Linked DNA regions of Homo sapiens: regions 2, 3 and 4 are each linked to region 1. The links are contacts of gene promoters, found by promoter capture Hi-C in human tissues and cell types (Jung and others, 2019). All regions are on one chromosome and are shown on one strand. Each heading gives the region's core, a stretch centred on a gene start or on the middle of the fragment in contact. The rest is flanking DNA. Distances are from core to core; before and after follow the strand shown. Region 1 holds the start of SULT4A1 (sulfotransferase family 4A member 1). Region 2 has its middle 22 kb from the start of LINC00229. Region 3 has its middle 15 kb from the start of LINC00207. Region 4 holds the start of SCUBE1 (signal peptide, CUB domain and EGF like domain containing 1).

Evidence for each region. Contacts are between HindIII fragments. The study calls those that stand out against the background at their distance.
Region 2: a contact is called between a fragment that was not itself captured here and the fragment with the promoter of SULT4A1 in region 1, in 1 of the 25 tissues and cell types used here (lymphoblastoid cells).
Region 3: a contact is called between a fragment that was not itself captured here and the fragment with the promoter of SULT4A1 in region 1, in 1 of the 25 tissues and cell types used here (dorsolateral prefrontal cortex).
Region 4: a contact is called between the fragment with the promoter of SCUBE1 here and the fragment with the promoter of SULT4A1 in region 1, in 4 of the 25 tissues and cell types used here (H1 embryonic stem cells, IMR-90 fibroblasts, mesendoderm cells and 1 more).

What each region holds. Positions count from the first base shown.
Region 1 is chr22:43,858,977-43,864,917 of GRCh38, reverse strand. SULT4A1 (sulfotransferase family 4A member 1) reads left to right here and starts at 2,405. Exons shown (of 7, transcript NM_014351.4): 1 at 2,405-2,704. The coding sequence starts at 2,536. RefSeq lists an enhancer at 4,090-4,589. The HindIII fragment of the contact is 9,350 bases long and covers 1-5,941 here.
Region 2 is chr22:44,600,258-44,606,198 of GRCh38, reverse strand. No RefSeq gene overlaps it. Among named protein-coding and RNA genes, the nearest start is that of LINC00229, 22 kb to the left of the region's middle. The HindIII fragment of the contact is 5,775 bases long and covers 715-5,941 here.
Region 3 is chr22:44,581,432-44,587,372 of GRCh38, reverse strand. No RefSeq gene overlaps it. Among named protein-coding and RNA genes, the nearest start is that of LINC00207, 15 kb to the right of the region's middle. The HindIII fragment of the contact is 4,820 bases long and covers 560-5,379 here.
Region 4 is chr22:43,339,868-43,345,808 of GRCh38, reverse strand. SCUBE1 (signal peptide, CUB domain and EGF like domain containing 1) reads left to right here and starts at 2,437. Exons shown (of 22, transcript NM_173050.5): 1 at 2,437-2,635. The coding sequence starts at 2,548. The HindIII fragment of the contact is 4,801 bases long and covers 1-4,411 here.

The sequences.
Region 1 (5,941 bases), core at 1,156-3,655:
TCTGCTCCCAGTCAACCCTCTTTCCAATGCCCCAGGTTAAGACTATTCTCACCTCTATCACTATAGATCAGTTTTGCTTGGTTTTGACTGTATATAAATAGAATCATATGACATACCATTTTTTGTGCTTGACTTAGTTTGTTCATCATTTTGACTGTGACATTCTTCTCAGTTACATTCCTTTTTTAAAAAAATTACTGTATTCCATTGTATGAATATATCGCAATTTATCTATTCTACTGTTGGGTACGTGGGTTTTTTCCCATTTTTGTCTAACATGCTCAAATTGTTTCCGATTTGACCTATGATAATACTTTCATGTTATACCCTGTGTCCTTCTGACCTATTCCCAACATTTTTGAACTTGCAGGAGTTCAAGACTCAACAAGACATTTTAGGCTCATCTTGTACTTTCCTTGCCCTGGAGTTGGCTTTTTCTCCAAGAAACCCCAGGTTCATTTGGTGAGGGAAGTATTTAGCAAAGATCTGGGCAGTGGGTATGCCTAGTATTATTGAGATATCACTGCCTAAAGGCTTTTCCAGCAAATATAAGAAATAGGAATTTTAAAATATCATAAACTCATGTCAATACCTCCAATTCCAATCCAATACCATAGAGTTCTTCCCTGCCTTCTCGCATTCCCCACTTACATTTTCCTTCTCCCACAGTGAGAACCCTCACCTGAAACATCAGGATATTCATTCATTCACTCAATCCCTCTAGCTTTTGGCTAGATGCCCTTTTGCCATTGGCCTAATTATTCTGAATAAAGGCTGGGTGCTCGGAATGTCCTCTTTCTTTTTTGGAAAGACATCTACAAGCTTCCCAAGTCAGGATTAATTGCTGTTTCCTCTCTCTGTCTGCTATGTACACATGGCCTGCGCTTCTCAGCCCATGTGTATGTCTTTGGTGTCAGAATGCACGTGTCTCACTCTACAGTAAGAAGGAGAGAGTAGGAATAGGTCCCGTCCAGCCACTCTGCTCCAGATTCTTGTTGGTGTAAACTCCTTCCATCTTCCTGGCTACACTACTTAGAGGTAGGAATCATTCTTTTCCTTTACACAGCTGATGATGCTCGGCTGCAGAGAATGAGAGCAGGCTGTGTTGTTTTCATCTTTGTGCTTCCCCAGGCATGTTAGTAGGTGCTTCATATATGTCTGTTGAGTGCATGACTGGCAAGGGGTTGCACTGAGATCTCTAGAACTCGGTTGCTCTCAAATTATAGTTTGCACAAGAAGTGCCTTACTAAATGTATATTTTTGTAATTTTTCTCCATAGATCTGGGGTCCTGGAATTTGCAATCCAACACTCCCCTCCCCTACTCATGGGATATTAAGAAGCACTTTTTGGCTGGGCGAGGTGGTTCACACCTGTAATCCCAGCACTTTGGGAGGCCAAGGTGGGCAGATCACGAGGTCAGGAGATTGAGACCATCCTGGCTAACACGATGAAACCCCGTCTCTACTAAAACAAACAAACAAAAAATACAAAAAATTAGCCAGGCATGGTGGCATGTGCCTGTAGTCCCAGCTACTCGGGAGGCTGAGCCAGGAGAATGGCGTAAACCCGGGAGGTGGAGCTTGCAGTGAGCTGAGATCGCGCCCCTGCACTCCAGCCTGGGCGACACAGCGAGACTCCATCTCAAAAAAAAAAAAAAAAAAAAAAAAGCAAAAAAAAAGCACTTTGTTTTTTTGGCTGGACTAGGTGGCCCATACTTTTTTTTTGTTGTTGTTAGAAGATCTCGTCCTGTTGCCCAGACTGGAGTGCAGTGGTGCAAGCTCACAGCTCACTGCTAATTTTTTTTTTTGTATGTTTGTAGAGATGCGGTTTCACCATTTACCCAGGTTGGTCTCGAACTCTTGACCTCAGGAGATCCGCCCGTGCTCGACCTCTCAAAGTGCTGAGATTACAGGCGTGATCCACCGCGCCTGGCGAAGACGCATATTTTTAATAGGACCTAATATTTACCTGAAATTATCTTGGTTATTTACCAATGTAAGCTCCAACAGGGCCAGGCTTCTGCTTGCTTCTACCCTGACGCGTGTCGGGGCCCTGGCCCAGTGCCTGGCACAGATCAGCAGCGCGCTAAGCACGTGTTGAATGGACGACTACCTTTCAGGGCCTTCCAGCCAGGGTATCTCATGCGTCTGTGTTGAGCGCTTGCTGAGTGACAGAAGCTATGAGCGGAATGAACGCACGCACGACTGAGGAGGCTGCAGACCGCGGGCCAGGGTCTCTGTCAGCCCCGGCAGCGGGTGGGTGACCCCGGCCGGGGGCGGGGCGGGGAGGACGCGGCTCCGCGGCGCCATGACGTCACGCCCGTGCAGCGCCGCGGCCGCGTGCCGGGCGGCGCCATGACGTCATACCCGCGGAGCCTCCGCCGCGCGTCGGCGGCGCCATGACGTCACGCCTGCGGAGCTGCCGCCGCGCGCCGGTGGGGCGCGAGCGTGTGCGGGGCGCGGGCGCGGGCGCGGGCGCGGGCGCGTGCGGGCTGCGAGCCGGGAGGCGGCGGCGGCGACGGCGACGGCGGCGGCATGGCGGAGAGCGAGGCCGAGACCCCCAGCACCCCGGGGGAGTTCGAGAGCAAGTACTTCGAGTTCCATGGCGTGCGGCTGCCGCCCTTCTGCCGCGGGAAGATGGAGGAGATCGCCAACTTCCCGGTGCGGCCCAGCGACGTGTGGATCGTCACCTACCCCAAGTCCGGTGAGCCCCGCGCCGACCGCGCCCGCCACGCCATGCCCCAGCCCTGCAGCGCGGCCGCGTAGACGCCGCGCCCGCGCCCGGGGCTTCTGCTGGGCCGGGTGGTCGCCCTTGGCCTCCGCCCCTGCCGTGCCCACCGCTCTCCCGATGCTCGGATCCCTGCGGGGCGGGGTGGGGTGGGGTGGGGGTGGGAAGGGGCTTGGTTCTCATCTGGGGAAACCAAGGTCAGAGACCTTCGGGAGCGGCCCCTTCCGTGGAGATGGAGCCTATTTGGCCGGCGCTGCAGGAGGATGGGCCCAGGGCCGCCACCCATCCCTGCTTCTCCCTTTACCTGGCTGGCTGTGTGACCTTGGACAGGTCACTCAACCTCTCTGTTCCTGAATCCTGCCCAACCTTTGATGAGTGCAAAGTCCTGGTGTTCACCTGGGAAGGGAGATAACATGGGCGTCAGGGCTTTCAGCGTGGAAACGTAACGTCCCTCCTTTCCAGCCTGGGCTCCGGGTGGGGGATGGGACCAGTCCCCGCCTGGAGTGCCTTGCTTGTACATTCTCTTGTTTCAGGGCTGCCTCCATCACCGAGGCAGGACCTGGGGCATTCACATTTCCCAGCATTAGCTGACGTCACTTTCACAATAACAGCTGTGTGAGCTAGTGGTGGTCATTCCCACTTTACAGTCTAGGCACAGAGGCTCAGAGAGGGGAAGAGGCTGGTCCAAGGTCACTCAGCTGGTGAGTGGCTGACCTGGGAATTAAAGCTAGGCTGGTCTGTTTCCAGACCTGAGGTAGGAGATTGTATAGTACCCCATCTGAGGTTTTTAGGGAAAGGAGGTAGCAGCTTTCCTGTTCTGTAAACATGCCCTGGGATTTCCTTGTTGCCACTGTATTTGAGGCAATCACAGCGTGGTTTAGAAGGTGTCTGGCTCTAAGGTCACGCCGGACCAGCAGTCGGGCAGTTTCAGGAAAAGCTGTAGGCTTGGCTGTTGTAGCTGTATGGAGTTCCAGACACCTGAGGGCAGGTCTCTGACATTCTTCTGAGGAAGATTGGAGTAGGGACTCTCAGTGGAGGGTGTTGGTTGGAGAACAGAGCGTTCGATGGGCTGCTATCTTGAGCACATGCCAGTCGCCGCATGGGGTGGGACCTAAAATGCTTTAGGAATGGCTAAGCGTGTCGTTGGCTTCTGTGGCCACTCATTAAGTCCTGCGGGCCAAGTGCTCTATCGCTGTTAATCTGTGAGGGACTCTTACACCTTTTTTTCAGAGGCTCAGAGAAGGCACAAATTGTTCGGAGTCACACAGTTGCTGAGGGACAGAGGTCAGGTCTAGCTAGGTCTCCCGGTCCACGGCCAGCCTCTCCCCTGCCTTATGGGTGCTCCGTTGCCCTTGGAAAACCGTGAGGGCCCAAGAAGGAGGGGGACCTAGCCTTCTTTCTTGGAGGCTTTAAAATGCTGGAAGTCTCAGCCACTTAGGGATTTTGAGGTTTGTGTCACTTCTCTGAGGCCCCTCCAAGTGGACTTCTGGTAGCCCAGTTCATATTTTCTTTTCCTTTCCTTCCATCTGCTACTGGGGATGGATTTGTAGCAGGCATCAGTGCTTACACATTAAGAACCTGGCTTCGGAGTTGGAAGTCCTGGGTTTGAATGCAGTTTTGCGGCTTACCAGCAGAGTGACCCTGGGCAGATCATAGAATCCCATTGAGCTGTGGTCTCTGCGGAGGGAGAAGAGACCACCTCGGCCCGCTGATGTGTGGCTGTGAGGATGAGCAAAATGGCGGGTGAGAACGCTTAGCCCACGTCCAGACACACGCTGGAAAGGCTCGTGGTTAATGCTGACTTTTAAGCCCTGAACACCTGTTGTGCCCAGATGCTTTGCTAGGGGCTGGGGAAGCCGAGAGGGCCCCATCTGGTGCCTGTCCTTAGTGAGCTCTCAGTCTGATGGGGGAGACATGGTTGGTGCTGGGGTTGGGGCAAGTAGCCAGGACTAACAGGTGCCCCATTCACCTGCCATGGCAGGGAACCCACGGGCCTCCTTGGATTTCCAGTGCCCAGGTGTAGGAGATCCTAATGAACTTGCAGGTGGTCAGAGCCGGAAGGGCCTGGTCCCTTGTCAGCCCCTTCCCACCCTCTGCTGATGGAGAAACTGGGGTTCAAAGGGGTGGTGGGGGCTTTCTGGTGGCTAAGGCAATGATAATTAGATCCTGCCTTCGCTTCCTGTCCGGTATTTTTTCCCACAACCCCGTGCTGCTTGCTCGGATTCTTTTTGTGCTTGCGACATTCTAGCTTAGATGGCGGGTTAGGACTGTGCTCTCCAGCGTAGGACCCTCTGCCCACAGGCGGCTGCTTACATCTAATGAATTAAAATGAAATAAAAGTGGAAATTCTGTTCCTCAGTAGCATCACCATGTTTCAGGTGCTCAGTAGCCACATGGGGCTAGCGGCTGCCGTATTGGGTGGCGCAGATATGGAGTGTTCCCATCACAGCTGAAAGTTCTGCTGCACAGCGCCAGGTAAAACCGTGATCCAGACAGTAGGAGCCCATTGTGTCTTCTGAGAAGGACCTTTCTGTTGATGACCGACTTTGTTCCTATTCATTCTTACAGCGTAGTTGGTCCTGGGACGGTGGTTGTATTAAATCCGATTGTGTCTGTGAAAATATTTTGTCCCTGTGTGTTGGTTTGATGCAATCACTGCCACTGGTTTTGTCAACAGGTTGATTTGAATTGGGTGCTCGTCCCCGAGGGGGCACAGCCCCAAAGTCATGGAGCTTGGGCTTTGAAATACGGTCCCTGGCTCAGCCAGAGCACCCACTGCCCTGAGTTTATTTTGCCCCTGGTTCCGGCCAGTCCTGAAGTGTGTGCGCATTCTCACTGATGCAGACGGAAGCTTCTGGGCCTGGGCGTGGGTGAGCCACCTGGTTTCTTTGAACCTCAGTTTGCTCATTAAAAATGAGAGGATTTGACCAGATTGATTCATTTAAGTCTTACATTTTCAGACAACTCAGGGGTTGAAGCTGAGGGGAGCTGAAGCTGAGGGGAGACTCATGGTGTGCAGGTCCCAGGCTAGATGGATGTCCTAGTTTTCTTGGTGTGTATGTCACTGTGCCTGGGAGAGACAGGTTTCAGAAGGGCTGGGCATGAGGTGATGGTGACCTTGTGGCACTTGCAGTGACATGGGGGAAGCCAGAATCCTAACACTGAAAAGTTAACTGACAAGCCAGGGTGGCTGTTCTCAGGGTCAGGTAAATG
Region 2 (5,941 bases), core at 2,353-4,852, 740 kb before region 1:
TGCCCTGCTCTGAGAGGCCCAGTACCACCGTGGCCAGCTCGCTGGGCGGGACAACGGCAAGCCCGAGCACCACCCTGCTCCTGCCACTACCTCGCTTGATGACAAAGGGCACATTGCTTCCTTCCTCTGGGCATTGTCTATTTGAGTTTTCCAAATAGACAATGGCGAAATTGGGTGAGATGACCTCTAAGGGCTCTGCCAACTCAGGCAGTCCAGGAGGTGACATCTAGAATTCCAGACTGCCTGTGGTCTACTGGTGGGAAATCCACCCCGTCCAGAGCCTCCCCTCCAGGCGCCCTCTCTCTGGGTGCTCCCGCTCTGCCTGGCATCTGGGAGACGAGCGGGTATTTGCTGAATGAAAAGCGATATCCCTTTGCCCAGAAACAGCATCTCACAGCTTTTCTTCCTTGGTCTTCACGAAATCAAAACTGACAAGTTGCCCTCCTTCCAGCTGAGTAAGTGTGGCCATCACACCCCACCCTCAGGAAGGAGGAAAAAGTGGCAGCTTGCAGCAGAGATGGAACATCCCCAAACCACAGTGACAGCACAAAGGGCTGCCTGTCTGGTTCCAGTCCCCCAAGTAAAGGACACCTGGAGTCTTCGCAGAGGCCGCTGCTTCCCCTAACGGCCCTGCCTTTTGGCGCTGAGTGTCTGCAGACCTTTGGCAACCTTTGCAAATATCATCCTCACAGAGGAGAGCTGCACCTCTTCCATCTTAAGCAGTGAACCCAGGATGCTTGGCGATCTTGGGGCTTGTTTTTTCCTCTAAACACCTGCTGTGTGTTTTATTGGGCAAGCCGTCCTTTCTGCGTCTGGGCTCCCTTGAGTCTGCAAACCTTCTTCTCTGAGTATCGTCCACTGCTGGATCTGATCCTCTGGCAAGGATCAGATTCCCCCTGTCTGCCACCCAGCAGGGAGCATGCGGGGCCACCGAAGGCACTTCCCCCAGAAATACAGCAGCCAGGCTCCAGTCAGGGGCAAACATGTCAGAAACCACACACACACACACGCACACACGCTACATGCCCATGAGGCTGAGGCTCCAGACCATGGGGCTGTGTGTGTGGCCTCAGAAGTGCATCTTGTGGGCTCTCTGTGCCCTCATGCCCCTCCTCCCCAGGGTGGACTCATGCAGCAAGAGAAGGGCTGTGTATGTGTGTATGTGTGTGTGTGTGTGGTATCTGTGTGGTATATGGTGTGTGTGTGTGTGGTGTGTGTGTGTTTGATGTGTGTGTGATGTGTGATGTGTGTGTGGTGTGTATGTGATATGTGGTGTGTGTGTGCAGGGTGTGTGTGGTGTACGATGTATGTGGTACATGGTGTGTGTGTGTGACATGTGATATGTGGCACATGGTTTGTGGTGTGTGGCATGGGATGTGTGTATGGTATATGTGTGCTATATGGTATGTGTGTGGTATATGTGTGTGGTGCATGTGTGTGTAATGTGTGGTGTATGGTGTGTGTGGTGTATGTGTGTGATATGTGGTGTGTGGCCTGTGGTGTGTGCGTGGTGTATGTGTGTATGGTGTATGTGGTGTGTGCATGTGATATGTGGTGTGTGCCATGTGATGTGTGTGGTGTGTGTATGGTGTATGTGGTGTATGTGTGTGACATGTGTGGTATGTGATGTGTGTGGTGTGTGTATGATGTATGTGGTGTATGTGTGTGATATGTGGCATGTACCACGTGTGTGTGTGTATGTGTGTGGTTTCTGACACGTGCCTCTGGAGCCCGGCTGCTGCATTTCTGGGGGAAGCGGCTTCAGTGCACCCCCCGGGCTCCCTGCTGGGTGGCAGACACGGGGAATCTGGGCCTTTTTGTTTTTTGCCTGTGTGGGTCTGTTTGCCTTGAGGATCCTGCTATCTTCAGCATTAGCAACACCCACCGCTTGATCATGGGTCCCAAGATTCTGGTTTGGTCGGCTCGAGGGCCGCCCGTCCTGACCGTGGGCTTGGGAGGGCGCCCCGGTCTCATCCTCACCACCTGTGTATATTGTGTGTCTTTTCCATCGCGGGCAGGGTCCTCTATGTTGATCTTGTTGAATCTCAATGAGTGAAAATCACTCCCGAAATGCATCTTGTGCGGCTGGAGCAGAGAGCAGCCCCTTGAGGTCTCTGGGGCTCGCGGAGCTCCGCGTTTCTGCAGCCGCTTCAGCCGCCCAGTGGGTTTTTGTGTCCTGTGCTAACTTGTGACTCATGGTTAAAGTTGTGAAACTGAGTCTGTGAGTTCTCCTTATGTGTGAACCACAAAAAACCATTTTTTTCCTCCTTGAAAAAGGAGGATCCTTAGCCTTCTGTGCTGGCCTGTTTGTAAGGGAACCTTTCTGCATCTGTGGCCTGCTTGGGAGCACCCTCGATTGCAGCTGTTGGAGAGCCAACGGTAATAAGAACTGAACATTCGTTTGCACTTTAGAGATTTCTGGAACAATGAGGGGTTGTGTGCCATGCGCTGAACTGTGTCCCCAGGCCCCACCAATTCTATGCTGAAGTCATCATCCTCAGGCCCTCAGAGTGTGACTGCATTTGGAGACAGGGTCTTTAAAGAGGCGATTATAGTTAAATGGGGTCACTGGAGCAGGCCCTCATCCAATAGGACCGGTGTCCTTATAAGAAGAGAAGATGATAGGGACACCAGTCCTATTGGATTAGGACACAGACATATTAGTGTGGGACAACCGTGTGAGGACATAGGGAGAAGGTGGCATCTACAAGCCAAGGGGAGAGGCCACAGGGGAAACCAACCCTGCTGACCTTGATCTCAGTGTAAGGAAATAAATCTCTGTTGCTTAAGTCCCAGCCTGTGGTACTTTGTTATGGCAGCCTCAGCAAACTCATATTTATTTATTTTAAAGACAGAGTCTCACTCTGTTGCCCAAGGTGGAATGCAATGGCGAGATCTCGGCTCACTGCAACGTCTGCCTCCTGGGTTCAAGCCATTCTCCTGCCTCAGCCTCCTGAGTAGCTGGGACTACAGGCATACGCCACCACGCCCAGCTAACTTTTGTATTTTTAGTAGAGACAGGGTGTCACCATGTTGGCCAGGCTTGTCTCAAGCTTCTGACCTCAAGTGATCTGCCAGCCTCGGCCTCCCAAAGTGCTGGGATTACAGGTGTGAGCCACTGTGCCTGGCCATATATCATACTTTAAAATTACTGGCCAGGCACAGTGGCTCATGCTTGTAATCCCAGCACTTTGGGAGGCCAAGGTGGGACAATCACTTGATCCCAGGAGTTTGAGACCAGCCTGGGCAACATGGTGAAACCCTGTTTCTACAAAAAATAAAGAATTAGCCATGCATGGTGGCGGCTTCTGTAGTCCCAGCTACTTGGGAGGCTGAGGTGGGAGGATCGTTTGAACCAGGGAGGTCGAGGCTGCAGTAGCCATGTTAGCACCACTGTGCTCCAGCCTGGGCAACAGAGCAAGACTCAATCTCAAAAATTAAAAAAAAAAAATTAGTCCTTAAAGAAGGTTCTGCTTGGGCTATGTAACAATTGCTCCAAGGGCCTGAGCATATGCTGGAGTGGGAGAGACCATTTCCAGCTGGTCTGGAGCTTCATGGCTGCTGAGAGCTCTGGAGGGTTCTAAATGTTGGGACTTGTTTTCTCCCACCCCTCAAAAGAAATGAGGGGAGTTCCACAGAGATACAAAGTGATGTGGGGGGGGGGGGCATTTGCTGACTGTAGATGCTGGCATCTGGCTTTTGCGCATTTGCAAAGCAGGTTGGGAAGGAGGGCAGATCTTGAGGGTCTAGCATCCCCTCAGAGGGGGATGTATGGGGTGGAATGCTGACATGGCCTCCACATTTCCGCCCCTGATGGATGCATCCTCCTCCCAGTTATTCAGTCAGATACAAATCTAGGTGCTGCTGTGAAGGGGTTTTTCAGATACAGTTAAGACCCCAATCAGTTGCCCTTAAGAGAGAGGATGATTAGGCAGGGCGTGGTGGTACATGCCTGGAGTCCCAGCCAGCACTTTGGGAGGCTGAGGCAGGAGGATTGCTTGAGCTCAGGAGTTTGAGACCAACCTGGGCAAATGGCAAGACCTCATCTCTACAAAAAAATTTAAAAAATTAGCTAGGTGTGTTGCTGCACACCTGTAGTCCCAGCTACTCGGGAGGTTGAGGCAGGAGGATTGCTTGAGCCCAGGAAGCCAAGGCTGCAGTGAGCCATGACTGCACCAGTGCACTCAGCCTGCGTGACAGACTGAGACCCTGTCTCAAAAAAAAAAAAAAAAAAAAAGGTGGTTCATCTTGGTGGGCCTGACCTGATCAGGTGAGCAGGTGAGACTGTAAAGAGACTGGACCCTCGAGACGGGAGAGATTCAAAGTGTGGGAGGATTTGACATGTCAGAGCTTCTCCAAGGCTGGCTTTGAAGATGGAGGGACCACATGACAAAGAGGGATGGCACCTTTAGCAACTAAGGGAGGCTCTGACCAGCAAGAACACGGGGACTCAATTCCATGCTTGGAGGACCTGGATTCTACTGCATGCAGTTGAGGCTAGAACAGGTTTCTGAGCTCCAGATGCGAACACAGCGGGAAGACACCTTGATTATAGCCTTTGTTTATTGTTATCATCATCACCATTATCATTCTTTCATTTTATTTACATTTATTTATTTATTTATTTATTTTTTGAGAGACAGGGTCTGGCTCTGTTGCCCAGGCTGGAGTAGAGTGGTACAATCAGAGCTCACTGCAGCCTCCACCTCCTGGGCTCAAGCTATCCTCCTGCCTCAGCTTCTGGAGTAGCTGGGACCACAGGCACGCACCATCATGCCTGGATGATTTTTATTTTCACTAGAGGTGGGGTCTTGCTATGTTGCCCAGGCAGGCCTTGAACTCCTGGGCTCAAGTGATCCTATCACGTCAGCCTCCCAAAGTGCTGGGATTCCAGGCGTAAGCCACTGCACCCGGCCCATTTTAGCCTTGTTGAGACCCTGGGTGGAGACGCAGTCATGCTGAGGCTGGACTTTCAACCTGCACAGCTGCGGGCTCACGAGGGCTGTGTGAAGCTGTGAAGTTTGTGGTAGTTTGTTATCTAGCATGGGAAACCGGGGACAGAATTTGGCCAAGTTCCCCCAGCGTGTGAGTGCAGAGATGGGGCCATGTCTCCCCTGTTCAGCTCAATTCTGTTGCCAGCAGCGCTTCTGTTTGGAGAAGACCCTCCCCATTGCCCCCATTGCCTTGGGTCAGGGTTGAGCTGACGCAGGGAGGGCTGGCCAGGGGCTGCTGCAGTTGCCCCAGAGAGAGGAGGTGGCCGGACGCTCCAGTCCTTCTCCCAGCCATGGCTTGGCTGAGCTGGTGCTTCTCCAAGTGGCCAAGGGAGAGGAAGAGAAACCCTTCTGGGCTAAGTCTGGGGGTCCCTGGAGAGAGTGGGCTGGTGGCACGTAGAGGGACACAGTCCTGGGAGTGGGTCCAGAGTGCTGAGATTTGTGGGGGTCATTTCACCTCCCAGAGCCTCGACTTTTCTTATCTGTAAAATAGGGATTAAAAACACGTTCCCCACAGCATTACTGTGAGAAGGCGGGTGGGGACGCCCTTTGCGAAATGAAGGGTTGACCTGTGTGATCCGGTTCTGCCGATGCTCCGGCCATGCGTGTGACCGCTGGCTGCTGTGGTTTTTCTCTGCATGTGCCGGCTGCTGTGGTTTTTCTCTGCACACGCTGCTTCTTCTGAGCCTTCAGGTCTCAGCTGAGAGGCCTCCCCCTCTGAGACCCCTTTGTGACTGCTCTGTCAAAGTTGCTTTCCTGGAGACACCTACTGTCCCTGTGGGACTCACCACGGTGCAGATTCTGTGTGACATTTGTGTGTTCCTCTGTCTGTCCCCTGCACTGAGTTACAAGCTCCTCAAGGCCAGGGCTGGCTGTGGCTTTCCTCACCAACACTCTGGGACAGTCCTTAGTGTGAAGGAGACACTCACTGAACACCTGTGGTAAAAAAA
Region 3 (5,941 bases), core at 1,720-4,219, 720 kb before region 1:
GGATGGACTGTCCCACATTTCTTTCCTCAGGTTCCAAATCTCCCTTTTCATCTCATTCTTCTGGCTTCTCGCCTCTGGGAGTGTTGCTTTTGTGGAATTCATGTCCTCAGCCATTTGTTCTCCAGCATGAAGCCACCGGGAGGCCACACCTGTTTGTGGCTGACGCGGTCTGGGTTGGGCTGTTTGCCTCACTTTGGCTTATGAGATCCCCCTTCCTTCTCCCTTCTCTTCGGTGCCGTCTGCTTGCGCGGTTGCCATGGCATCGTTTCATCTCGCTCACGCTTGGGCAGCTCGGTCCTGACCGTCTATTTGTTCTGGGGAATTGGCGTATTTGGTTCCAGTTTCTCTTTGGATGCATTCTCTCTTGTTTTTCTTTGAAAATCGCACCTTAGTGTTTGCAAAATGATGCACACTTGCCATGGGTGACTTTTGGGGCACCCCTGTGATTGGCCCCCACTTTTCTGGGATGTCACTTTACCTTCCAGCTTCTGCCCACGGTGGGTGTCTGGCTGCAGCCCCTGTTTCTGAGCACAGCAGGGGAAATGCCAGCTGGGCTGGAAAACCGGGCTTGGTTTTCTGTCTTGAGATGGTGTTAAATGTCTACACTGCAGCTCACACACCTACTTAGGAGCCTCTGTGGGGATCCCACAGAATGCCGTCTGTAGTTCCTGAGTCTGTGAAGAGGCTCAGCCCCGCAGCTCACATTCTCCATTCTGCGTACCCCCCCGGCCGGAGCTGGGTTCACTCCTCTGTGGTCAGAAAGCAGTGAAGCTCAGAACACCACCCACCTTGCTGTGTTCGTTTGGAAGGAGGGGGCAAGAGATGGTCGGGGCTGGGGCATGAGAGCGCCGAGCTGGAAAGGTGGGGCTGGCGGTGAGTGCTTCCCACTGAGAAGGAGCTCTGTGCTTCAGTGGCTGCGGATGGTGAGGCGCAGGGCGGGGTGAACGCAGGGTTGGTGCACACCTGCATGGCCACACCCGTCTGCAGGGCCACCCCTTCCCAGGCTGGCTGTTAGGGATTTGAAATCACTCCTGGCCCTGGGAGTGGGTGGCTGAGATCAGGTGGAGGAAGGTTATGAGAAAAGGGGATCCCGGGAGCCCAGAGGCCAGGCTGTTGGGAGGATCAAGCCTGTGGCCACGGCAGTCACCAGGAATTCTATCAGGAGTGGTGTTGAGGGGGTGACAGTGACTGAGGAGGGGTGTGACTTGGGGGTGGGCCGCAACTGTTGCAGGGAGGGTGTTGGGTGACAAAGTCCAACAGCGTGAATTGGGTGAGTGTGGGGCGTTCAGGATGGAGGGAGGGAGAATGGCATAGAAGCCACAGTGAGGGACAAGGAGACCGCCATGGCCAGTGGGATGTGGGCGAGGGAACAGCCCCCTGAGAGCAGACCCCATGGGGGTGGCAGGGTCCTCGGGGATGGACTGGATTTAACTCAGGCAGAGTCTGAAGGTGTAGGTGGTTTTGTTGACAGTTGACTGAAGCCCGGGGGGTGTCATGGAGGGGAAGGGAGAGGAGCCGAGGGGGGCACTGCTGTGGGAGGGATATGCAGGGCCTTATGAGGCAGACGGTGATGGGGTCCCCGGCTTCTCTTGAGGACTGATGCCATCAGGACACAGGGTGAGATGAACTTCATCTCAACACCCAAGTCAGATGGTGATGGCGGCAGGGTGCTCGAGGGAAGCTGTCTTGTCCCGGACCACAGGGCTCTGAGGCGACCCCCTGGCTCCTGCTGCTGGAGCATGGGCCCCTGAGGACCCGCATCTCATTCCTAGTGGGCGGGTTTTCTTCCAGCCCCTAACGATGGTCGACCCCTCCATGGCCTGCAGGGCAGGTACTTGGCTTCTAACCATTTTGTCTTCAGGTAATTAATGCCAGTTTATGATTCCCCCAAGTCTGTCCTCCTTCCTGCCTTCTCTCCTTTTTTCCTGTCCTGCTTTTCTTTTTTTAATTATTTTGTTTTGAGATGGAGTCTTGCTCTATTGCCCAGGCTGGAGTGCAGTGGCTTGATCTTGGCTCACTGCAACCTCTGCCTCCCCAGTTCAAGGGATTCTCCTGCCTCAGCCTCCCAAGTAGCTGGGACTACAGGCGCCTCCCACCATGCCCAACTAATTTTTGTGTTTTTAGTAGACATGGGGTTTTGCCACGTTGGGCAGGCTGGTCTTGAACTCCTGACCTCAGGTGATCCTCCCGCCTCAGCCTCCCAAGGTGCTGGGATTACAGGCGTGAGCCACCGCACCTGGCCTCTCCATTCTTTCTTTTCCTAGAGTTTCTGTTTTCTATCACCACATCTTTATTGCACCTGCCATTTGTGGAAGTTTTTTACTAGCAAAGCGGTGACTTTTAGACCCAAACCCTACTGAATGTGTTATTTATTAAGAGAAATAATAAACTGCTGTGAAGAGTCAGGGCTCACATGGTTTTGAATCTTGGTCTCCTCATTATCTGGGTGACCTTGAAGGAATCGCTTGGCCTCTCTGAGCCTCAGTTTCCCCATCTGTAGGAGGGAGGCAGTAACAGTGCATAATTTGTGAAGCTATCATAGGGATTCACTGTGCAGCCCTTTATACAGGTGTGGACCAAAGCTTGTGCCCAGCAGAGGTCAGCTGCTCCCCTGTGGCCACGTGCCAGGCCCTCCTCCTCACTGACCTCACCAGGCACTCACAGCTCTACATGGCAGGCTCTGTTTGCTCCACACCAGCCTTCTCCAAAACCCTCTCCTCCAGGCAGCCTCTGGGCTTGCTGGCCAGGTTCTTAGAGGTGCCAGTAACTACCACACTCAGGCCTACAACCTCTCAGTCTCCAAAAGGCACCCTCTGCTCATCTCCTTTTTTGTCGGGTCAGTGAAGATGTGGGCTGCCACTTGGTGCCAGGCACTGTTCTGGGGGCCTGAGTGAGGTCTGAGATCAGGATAGACAGAGCGCGCCCCCCTGCCCCAACCGTGGAGGGGCTGATCTGGTGGGGGAATCAGATGACCCTGCATACAAATGCATATTTATATAAAGCATAGAGCAGGGGGTTGGAAATGGGTCGTGGGAAGAAACATGATGCAGGTGATGGGGTGGGAGCACCAGGGTGCTAGTGGAGCTGGCAGGTTTAGACAGGGCGGTCAGAAAGGTGACACTGAGCAGAGACTTGCAGGAGGTGAGGGAGGGGCCCTGCCAATACCCAGTACCTGGTGACAAGTGTCCAGGCAGCAGGAACGGCTAAAGCAGAGACCCTGAGGCTGGCGCGTGCCTGGAGCCAGGTGAGGGGGCGGTGGGGGGTGGATGTCATGTAGGATCTCCAGGGTATAGGGTTGGAGTAGAGGCTGGCACGGGACTGTGATGGGATGGATGTGCTGGGATCACAGCAGCCACTGCATGGGGAGGAGACCTGTGGTCTGGCTGGGTCGGGGGCAGTAGGGGGCGATGGCGGGGACCATTAAGGGCTTGCTTGGAGCAGCGTACGGGAGAGCTGCTGGTGGCTCTGCCTGGGGCCATCGTGGGGGGTGCAGAGGGAAATAAGGGGGGAGGGCCGATGATGTTTGGAGCCTATAACACTGGCCATGTCCTTGTTTTGTCCTCTGGGAAGGGGTCTTGAAACAGGACCCCACAGAGTGATTGAAAGCAGATTTCACCTTTCAAGGGTCTCTAGGAAGGAGGAGGTTGCACAGGTCCTTGCCCGTCGTCCTTCCTATCCCACTCGCGACCCTGGTCCTAGCCTCAGAAGTGCAACCCCTGGCTGTGCACTGATTTGCTGAGTGACGTAGTGGGTCACTTGCCTCCTGGGATAATCAGTTTCCCCATTGGCTCCGTGAGAGGTGACTGAGGTCCTTCCAGCCTGCCTGGTGCCTATGACAGGAGGAGAGGAGTCATCAGCACCAATGTCCTGTTATTATTGGGTGTCTGTTATTACTGGAAACAAACAGCGGCGTCTGTCCCTGTCTCCGCTGATTAATGAGAGCCCATCCTTGTTCATTTCCAAGATCAAAACACAAGCAGACCTCCTCCTGCGGGCTGTTCTCTCCCTCCCTGCTTCCTTGAGCATCAGGGCGGAGGAGGAAATGGCGCCATCTCTTCTGGCTCTGACTCAGCCCCGATCAGTGGCTCAGCTCAGCAAGTGCTCACCGAGGCCACTTGGCTGGGTGCTGCAGACACAGCCAAGCCAGACATGGTCCCTGTACTTGACAAGGGGCTCATCCAGTGGGAAAAGCAAGCAGTGGACACGATACCACAGTGGGTGGGTAAGAGGTGTGCAGGTGGCCAGCAGTGGGGGTCCACCTTGGGGTGGGAATGTGGCTTTTTAGCTGAGTCTTAAGTGATGCTTTAGGTTTGGACAGTGAGCGGGTAGCAGCGGAAGGGAAGTCCAGTCAGGAAGCAGGAGGAGAGGCATCAAAGAGCAGGAGGTGGAAAGGAGTTGGATTTGAGAGGGGCGGAGGGTGCATAGGAACAGGAAGGTGTCCACACCAGCCTCCCGAGAGCTGCGATGGGAGGCTTGAACCAGAGATGGTGGCTTTGAATGACCTAGTCCAATCCCCTTCCTTACCTCCCGGTAATGTACAGACTGGAAAACAAAACTTTCAAATTCCCAGGTTCCCTTACAGCCAGACACGTGCAACCGTGTGACTGAGCTCTGGCCAGTGAAAGGTGGGTGGAACTCCTTGGAGAGAGCTTCTGTCTTCTAATAAAATGACAAAGCCTTCCAAGGAGATGGTTTGTAACTTTCAGCCTTTAGCTTTTCTCTTCTTTCTGCCTGGAATGTGGGTGTGATGCTTGGATGCCCAGCAGCTATCTTCTGACCATGAAGACAGAGATGCTCTTGAGGGTGGTGGAGCAGGAAGCTAGAAGAAATCGGGTCTACATGAGTTTCCCGAGCACCTCACCAGCCCTGGGCTGTCTACTCCTGAGCAGCCACATGGTATGACTGAGCATACAGGGGCTGGTGGAGGTCAGAGAAGTCCCTGCCCCACTCTGGGAGCAGGAAGGCTTTTGGGAGCAGCCTGTGCCTGAAGTCTATTTAGGGTTCATCCAGACTCCAAGCCTCCAGCTAATGTCGGTCGCCACTTTCTCCTAGGACCTGGGTTTGCTAACTGGGGTATCCTCAGGGCCTGGCCTGGGGAAGGTGCCAAATACCTTTTCGCTGCAAGAGGGAAGGATGGCAGTGGCACCAGCGGGATGAGGAGCTTGGGAGCTAGAGCGGGAAGGGGAGGAGGTGGTGGGGAAGGCTGGGTTTCAGGAGGAACACCGTAGGTCTGCTGGATCAACGGGTGGGGCGTTGGGGTCTGGGCTGGAGAGGGACATTGGGATTTGTGAGCAGAGAGTGGGCAGGAGAAACGGTGAGAAAAGGAAAGGTTGCTGCGGGATGCCCACATGGAGTCTCAGGAGGAGGCTGGAGAGACGGCAGAGATGCTGCTGGCAGCAGGAGGGGACTGAGCGCTGTCCCCCCAGGAGGGCCTTTGCTGGGCGAGACTCTGGAAATATCCTGGGGCTGTAGTCACAAAGGAGGACACACGTAGGCCTTAAAACAATGAATGTTTAGAACTTCCAGTACTATGTTGAATAGGAGTGGTGAGAGAGGGCATCCTTGTCTTGTGCCAGTTTTCAAAGGGAATGCTTCCAGGTTTTGCCCATTCAGTATAATATTGGCTATGGTTTTGTCATAAATAGCTCTTATTATTTGGAGATATGTTCCATCAATACCTAGATTATTGAGAGTTTTTAGCATGAAGAGGTATTGAACTTTATCGAAGGCCTCTTCTGCATCTATTGAGATAATCATGTGGTTTTTGTCATTGCTTCTGTTTATGTGATATATCATGTTTATTGATTTGTGTAGGGAAAGAAGGAGAGCATTAAGACAAATATCTAATGCATGCGGGGCTTAAAACCTAAATGACAGGTTGATAGTCGCATCAAACCACCATGGCACGTGTATACCCATGTAACAAACCTGCACGTTCAGC
Region 4 (5,941 bases), core at 1,188-3,687, 520 kb after region 1:
TCCCGTGCTGGAGGCCTGGCTATGGGTTCCCACCTGCCAGCCCACCGCAGTGCAAAACAGACTCATCCGTTTCTGCACGCAGCCCTCCAGCACATCACTGTCATGTGCATACAGTGCTCTGCAGTTTTCAAGATGCTTCCAGAACATTCTCTGGCTCACTTATTCAGTCCTCGCCTTCACTCATGGACCTTGGCAGATTCTCTATTTGTTCTTCTCATCCATTAGGCAAATATCCTCTTTATGTTCTGTGTCTAGCCCAGGTCACCTGTCCTAAGAGGCCTCCCTGACGGCGCCCTGGGGCAGAAGTGACCTCCTCTTTCTCTGCTCCACAGGCCGCCTCCTTTCCTTCACCTGTGAGGGGCTTACAGGTGTGTCTTCTCTCCATTTCCCTCCTCCTCTGCTCGCTGAGTCCTCCACATAGACAACAGCTGCCTAGAAGGAACCACTTTCTCTCTGCCTGCACACCTTAGAGGGTGATAATTCACCAGCAAACTTGACCTGAGCAATCGCTTGGGGGCAGGCTGGGGACTACAACTTGGTACAAGGGACAGCTACCTCTGGGCTGAGGGGTCACAGAGTAACCTGCCTCCATTCCTGCCTTGATTTGTGGGGATGGAGCCTGGAAGAAGCTTCTCTTGCTGCCATCAAGCTTGAGGGGCACCTGGCTAGGGCTGGGCGGGGGGGTGCCTAATGACCAGGCACATTAGAGGGCATTGTTTCAAGTAGGTCAGAGCCCCCTGGAAGAACCTCCCCCACCACCTCACACTGCTTGCCCTGTTGCCCAATGCACAAGATAATATGTGGTTCTGAGGGAACTCCCCACCCCCTGCAGAAACTCAAAGCTACACAATTGACGGGGACAAAATAAAGCCTGTCAACAGCATCTCCCAAATTAAACCAGCAGCCAGGAGCAGCCGTGCAGACCGAAATGTCTGGAGCAATGGGGTGGGGGCTCAGTGGAGACAACAGGCAGCGCTTCCTTCTTCTTTGGGCATCTCTGGACCCCCCACACCCCCGATCCCCATGTAGGGGACCCCTTGCCTCAGCCACCAGGCCCGTGCCACAAGCTGATGTGAAGTCAGATGGGGTGTGAGAGCTGGCTGGACACAGATTTAACCTTCCAGGGCTGAGGAGCTCGTCTACGGTAGGTTGGATGAGGGCGTGAAGAAGCATGTGTGAGCGTGTGTGTGCTGGAGGGTGTGAGGGTGTGAGGCTGTGTCTGAGTGATTGCACGTGAGAGCATGTGTCTGCATGTGTGACTGTGTGTGTGTGTGTGTGTGTGTGTGTGTGTGTGTGTGTGCGTGTGTGTGTTGGGGGCAGGAAAGGGAGCTGGTGTGGAGGGGCTCAAACTGGTGCAGGCAGAGTGGACAAAAAGAGAAAAGAGTTGTCTTTGAGTTGGGCCTGGAGAGCAGGAGAAGAAAAAAGGAGCTCTTATTGGTGGTTGTCAAGGAGATGGGCCTTGGGGTTTGCTGAACTTTCGTCCCTTAAAGCGTCCTGCCTGGAACTGAGAGGGGCCATTTATTTCCAGCCGCCCGTCCCTCCCAGGCCCGGTGGGACCAGACCCGAAGCCAACCCTCGCCAGGCGTCAGGTGTAGACCCCAGGCCAGGCCAGAGCAGTTCCTGGGTCTTCGGACCGGGATGCCCGCCCTGCCCCTCCTCCTGGCCCCGCCCGGTCTGTCACAGGGGGAGGCCTCGGCCTCGCATTCCGGGCAGCGAACTTCGCCGGCCGAGGTTAGCCCCGTGCGGGGGCCTCCCGCGGGACCGACCGCCAAGCGGCATTGTCCGTCCCGGGCGCCCGCCCGGTTCCAGACGCAGGTCCTGCGGCCGCCCCGTGACAAGCACACTGACGGGCCACTGTCCTTTGACGAGTGCTAAAAAGTTCGTTTGTTTTGAACGTCAATTTTCAAGTGATCTTCACGAGGTTTCCCCTCCCGGTTCCTTCGCTGCTGCCTCGCCCGCACTCGGTCCCCAGTAGGTGCTCAAGAAACGTCCAGCAAACGGCAGCGCAGGCGAGTCTGCTCTGCGCGCTGGCGCGTTTCACTGCCCACGGATGGCGGGCGACCTCACGGGATCCCCGGTTCGCAGGATCCCCGCCCCCGAGGCTGCCTCTGGGCCGGGAGGGGTTACCCCAGAGGGGCGTCCACTCTCGACGGCGGGGGCCGGGGCGCCGCGGGCAGGGGAGGGCGCAGCCTCCAAGCAGCCCCAGCCTGGCCTAGACCCCGCGCCTAGCGAGCCGGCCGGCCAGGCCCACACCCCCCACCTGCCGCCCGCCCCAGGGGAAGGGTCCCCCCGACGACGCCCGAGCCCCCCTCTTCCTCGGAGGGCCGGAGGCCGGCGCCCATTGGCCGGCCCTGGGCGACGCCCCGCCCCTCCGACGCCACGGGCCAATGAGCGCGCGCTGTCAGCTCATCAGCCGGGCTGGCTGGGCGGCTCGGGAGCCCGAGCGGTGGCGGAGCGGCGAGCAGCGAGCAGCGCCTGCGGGAGCGGCCGGTCGGTCGGGTCCCCGCGCCCCGCACGCCCGCACGCCCAGCGGGGCCCGCATTGAGCATGGGCGCGGCGGCCGTGCGCTGGCACTTGTGCGTGCTGCTGGCCCTGGGCACACGCGGGCGGCTGGCCGGGGGCAGCGGGCTCCCAGGTAAGCCCCCGACCGAGGTGGGGGGCGGCGGGCGCGGGGGGCTCGGGCGGCCGAGGCGCGGTCCCGGAGGGCTTCTTCCCCGCGGATCCCGAGCTCGCCCCGCGCGGCCCCGCGCCCCCTGCCTCTTTGCAAAGTAACTTCTAGGGCCGGCCCGGGGCGCCCCCTCCCCGCAGCCCGGGCGGCCGGGGCTCCTGAGTCCGGCGGGGCCGCACCAGGGGTGGGTGGGCCGGGGCCCCGGGAGGGGAAGCGCGAGCGCGGGAGCGAGGAAGAAAGGCGGCGGTTCCCGGGGACCCCGCGTGCGGACCTGGGCGGGGCGGGACCCCGAGCGCAGAGGGGCGCTCCTCCTGGGAGAGGGGGCGCGGGGCGGGGCGGGCGGAGGGGGACACGCCAGGAGGTGGACGGGGAAAGGGACGGACCGAGAGACCGGGACGGGGCGGGAGGTGCGGGACAGACGGACAGAAGAGCCGGCGCCGAGGGAGCAGACAAAAGGAAGCCCGGAGAAAAGACAGATGCGGAAGGGTAGAGAGGAGGCCCGCACCGCCCGGGGAAGGAGGAGGAGGCCGGTGGATCAGGGGGAATCAAGAGGGATGGTCCCACCGATGATAAGGGAGAGAGAGAGGAGGAGACGGGGGACAGATGGACGCCGCAGAAAAACGGGGTTGGGGGGGGCGGTGAGAGGGAGACCGGGAAAGAGAGAGGGACAGAGATACCTGGAAAGCCGCAGACGAGGGACCGGGACCGTCTGACAGGACGGGGAGGAAAGACAGAGGGAAGGAAGGCAGAGGATCCGGAGGACAGACACAGGGAGGAGAGTCCGGACGCGGGACGTCGGTGGAGCAGACCCAGGAAGGGGAGGGGGAGACCCGGAGGCCACAGGCCCAGGCCCGTGGGTTTCACGGGGACCCCCCCACCCTCCCACCCGGTCCCCTCCTGCTCTCTGTCTTCAGGGGCTTCCCGAAAAGCTGGAGTCACATTCTCCCCTCCTCGTCATCAGAGGCGCTTCCTCCGGTGCTCTGCTTGGAGGGGGAGGCAGGGGGAGGGTCCTGCACGTCCTTCCCGGCTTCCTGAGGTCTGGTATGGGTGGCGTAGGGTCTATTCCTGGTGGTCCCGCGTGCCCCGAGTGAGGATGCTGGGCCTGTGAGACTCTTCCACAGCAACACCCCTCCTGGAAGCCCAGCCCTGCTGCCCCATCATCCCCCTTGTGTCTGTGGGTGTCTCTCCCAAGCTTTGGGGTCCCTCACCTCTGAGTGACTGTTCCTGGGCGTGCCTATCCCCACCTGTGTCCCTCCTCGTGTCTCTCTGTATCTGACTCTGTCTCCTCCACGACCCTCTCCGTGGAAGCCCTGTGACTGTGAAACCCCAGCAGCATGTCCCCAGCATAAGCAAACCAGAGTCAAAGGGAGCAGCCTGTGCTAGGAGGGCTGGGTCGCCCTGCAGGGGAGTCTCCAGCCCAGACAGGAGCGGGAGCATGGCAGAGAACCGATGGGGACAAGTGGCTTCTCCCTCTCTCTCCTCAAACTCCCATGTCCTCTCCCCACACTCCACACCAAGGACACCCAAGTGTTTAAAGGTGTGTTGGGAGATAGCTCCACCCACCCCTCATCAACATCCATCCATTTCCATTCCAGTGAAGACACCTGCCTAGGTGGGAGATTAGGGGTGAGGGCACAAGGGGCTCCCACCCCTCATTCCTACATACTGGCCCCTGGGAAGTGGGAAGAGCCATATCTGTGGCCCACTGCCCCTGCTGGTCCTGTCTCATAAGTGACCCCAGTCCTCCCAAACAGAAGCCTGGAGATGGGCCCTCTCTGGCCTCTGGGTCCCTGCCTTAGAGGCAGTGCCAGTCCTGCACAGTGTCCCTCTGTTGCCACTTCCCCAGAAGGCCCTCATGGATGTTCCTGCTGGCCCAGCCATCCAGTTGCCGGCTGGGCCCCCTCCAGTTCCTGCCTCCTTGTCCCCTTTCCACTCTTCCCCTGGGCAGCTGTCTAGGACAGGCCGCCCACCTGAGCAGATGGGTAGCCCCCCCCGGAAAGCAATGCCACCTGCCGTGTGTGTGCGCACACGTGCATGCATGTGTGTGTGTGTGTGTGTGCAGGGGGGTCATGCTGTTGTGTTTCTTGTTGATGCCTCTCTTCCTTCAGGGGTGGGCAGGAGACTTAGGGGCTAGGGCAAAGAAGGAGAAGCCCTGGGGGGCATGGATCTCATAGGCCCCACTGGCAGATTTCGAACCCAGATATTATCCAGGGGAGAAATTTAGAGTGGACACTCTTGGGGACCCAGCAATCTAAGGTGAGACCAGAGGCATGAAGAGATGGGGACATTCCAAGCTTACCCCTGGGGCACTGCCCTCATGGCAGCTGCTGAGAGTTCCTTGCACTGCTGCACTCCTGGGTCCTTCTGTCTGTCTGTCATGTCTACATTTCATGCATTGCTAGCTAGAAGTCACATGGCACATAGGAAAGCTCATTCTGTGTCAGAGTCCAGTCTCAGCCCCAGTGAGCTACTGACCCATAACAGATTTCACCTCACTGGGCCTCATTTCCTCATCTATAACCTGAGGAATCAACCTGGATTATAGGTACAGCTCTGACTGTGCTGAACTGTGCCCGACAAGAGGCACGTCCCCTCCCTGCCTGAACTCTGTGTGTGTGTGTGTGTGTGTGTGTGTGTGTGTGTGTGTGTGTGTGTGTGTAAAAGAGACAAGGAGAGAGGCTTGGGGTGTATAGATGGAATGGATACACAGAATCTATTTTGCACAATTTGCCCCAACAGCTGTTCCAGACTGAAAGTGTATATGTGTTGGGGGCAGGAGGTAGAGAGTGTCGGGAGCCCTCAAAGCCTAGACTGAACTTGCATTTATAAGTTGGGACATGAAAACCAGGTTCACGTGTGGATTTCCGAGGAGGGAGGACCATGTGGGGAGTCAGAACCATGGATGGGCTCAGGTTAGCCCAGTTGAGGGTGTGGTTCTGCCACCAGACACTTTGGTGTGGGGGCGTGGAAGCCAGATGATGAATCCCGTGTTTCCACAGGCTAGGGGCAGGGTGGGATCCCACGTTCAGGTGACCTGCAGGAGCCTCCTGGCATGGCCTTGGTGTCCCCATCTGGAACCCAAAGGGACTAGATTTAAACTCCTCCAAGGACCCTTCTGGCTCTAAATTCTAGAATGAGGAGAGTGGGGGGAGGGTTGGAGCTATGCTTTGGGGGGGGTAGAATGAGGAGAGTGGGGGGAGGGTTGGAGCTATGCTTGTTGGGGGGGTAGAATGAGGAGAGTAGGGGAGGGTTGGAGTGATGCTTGTGGGGGGA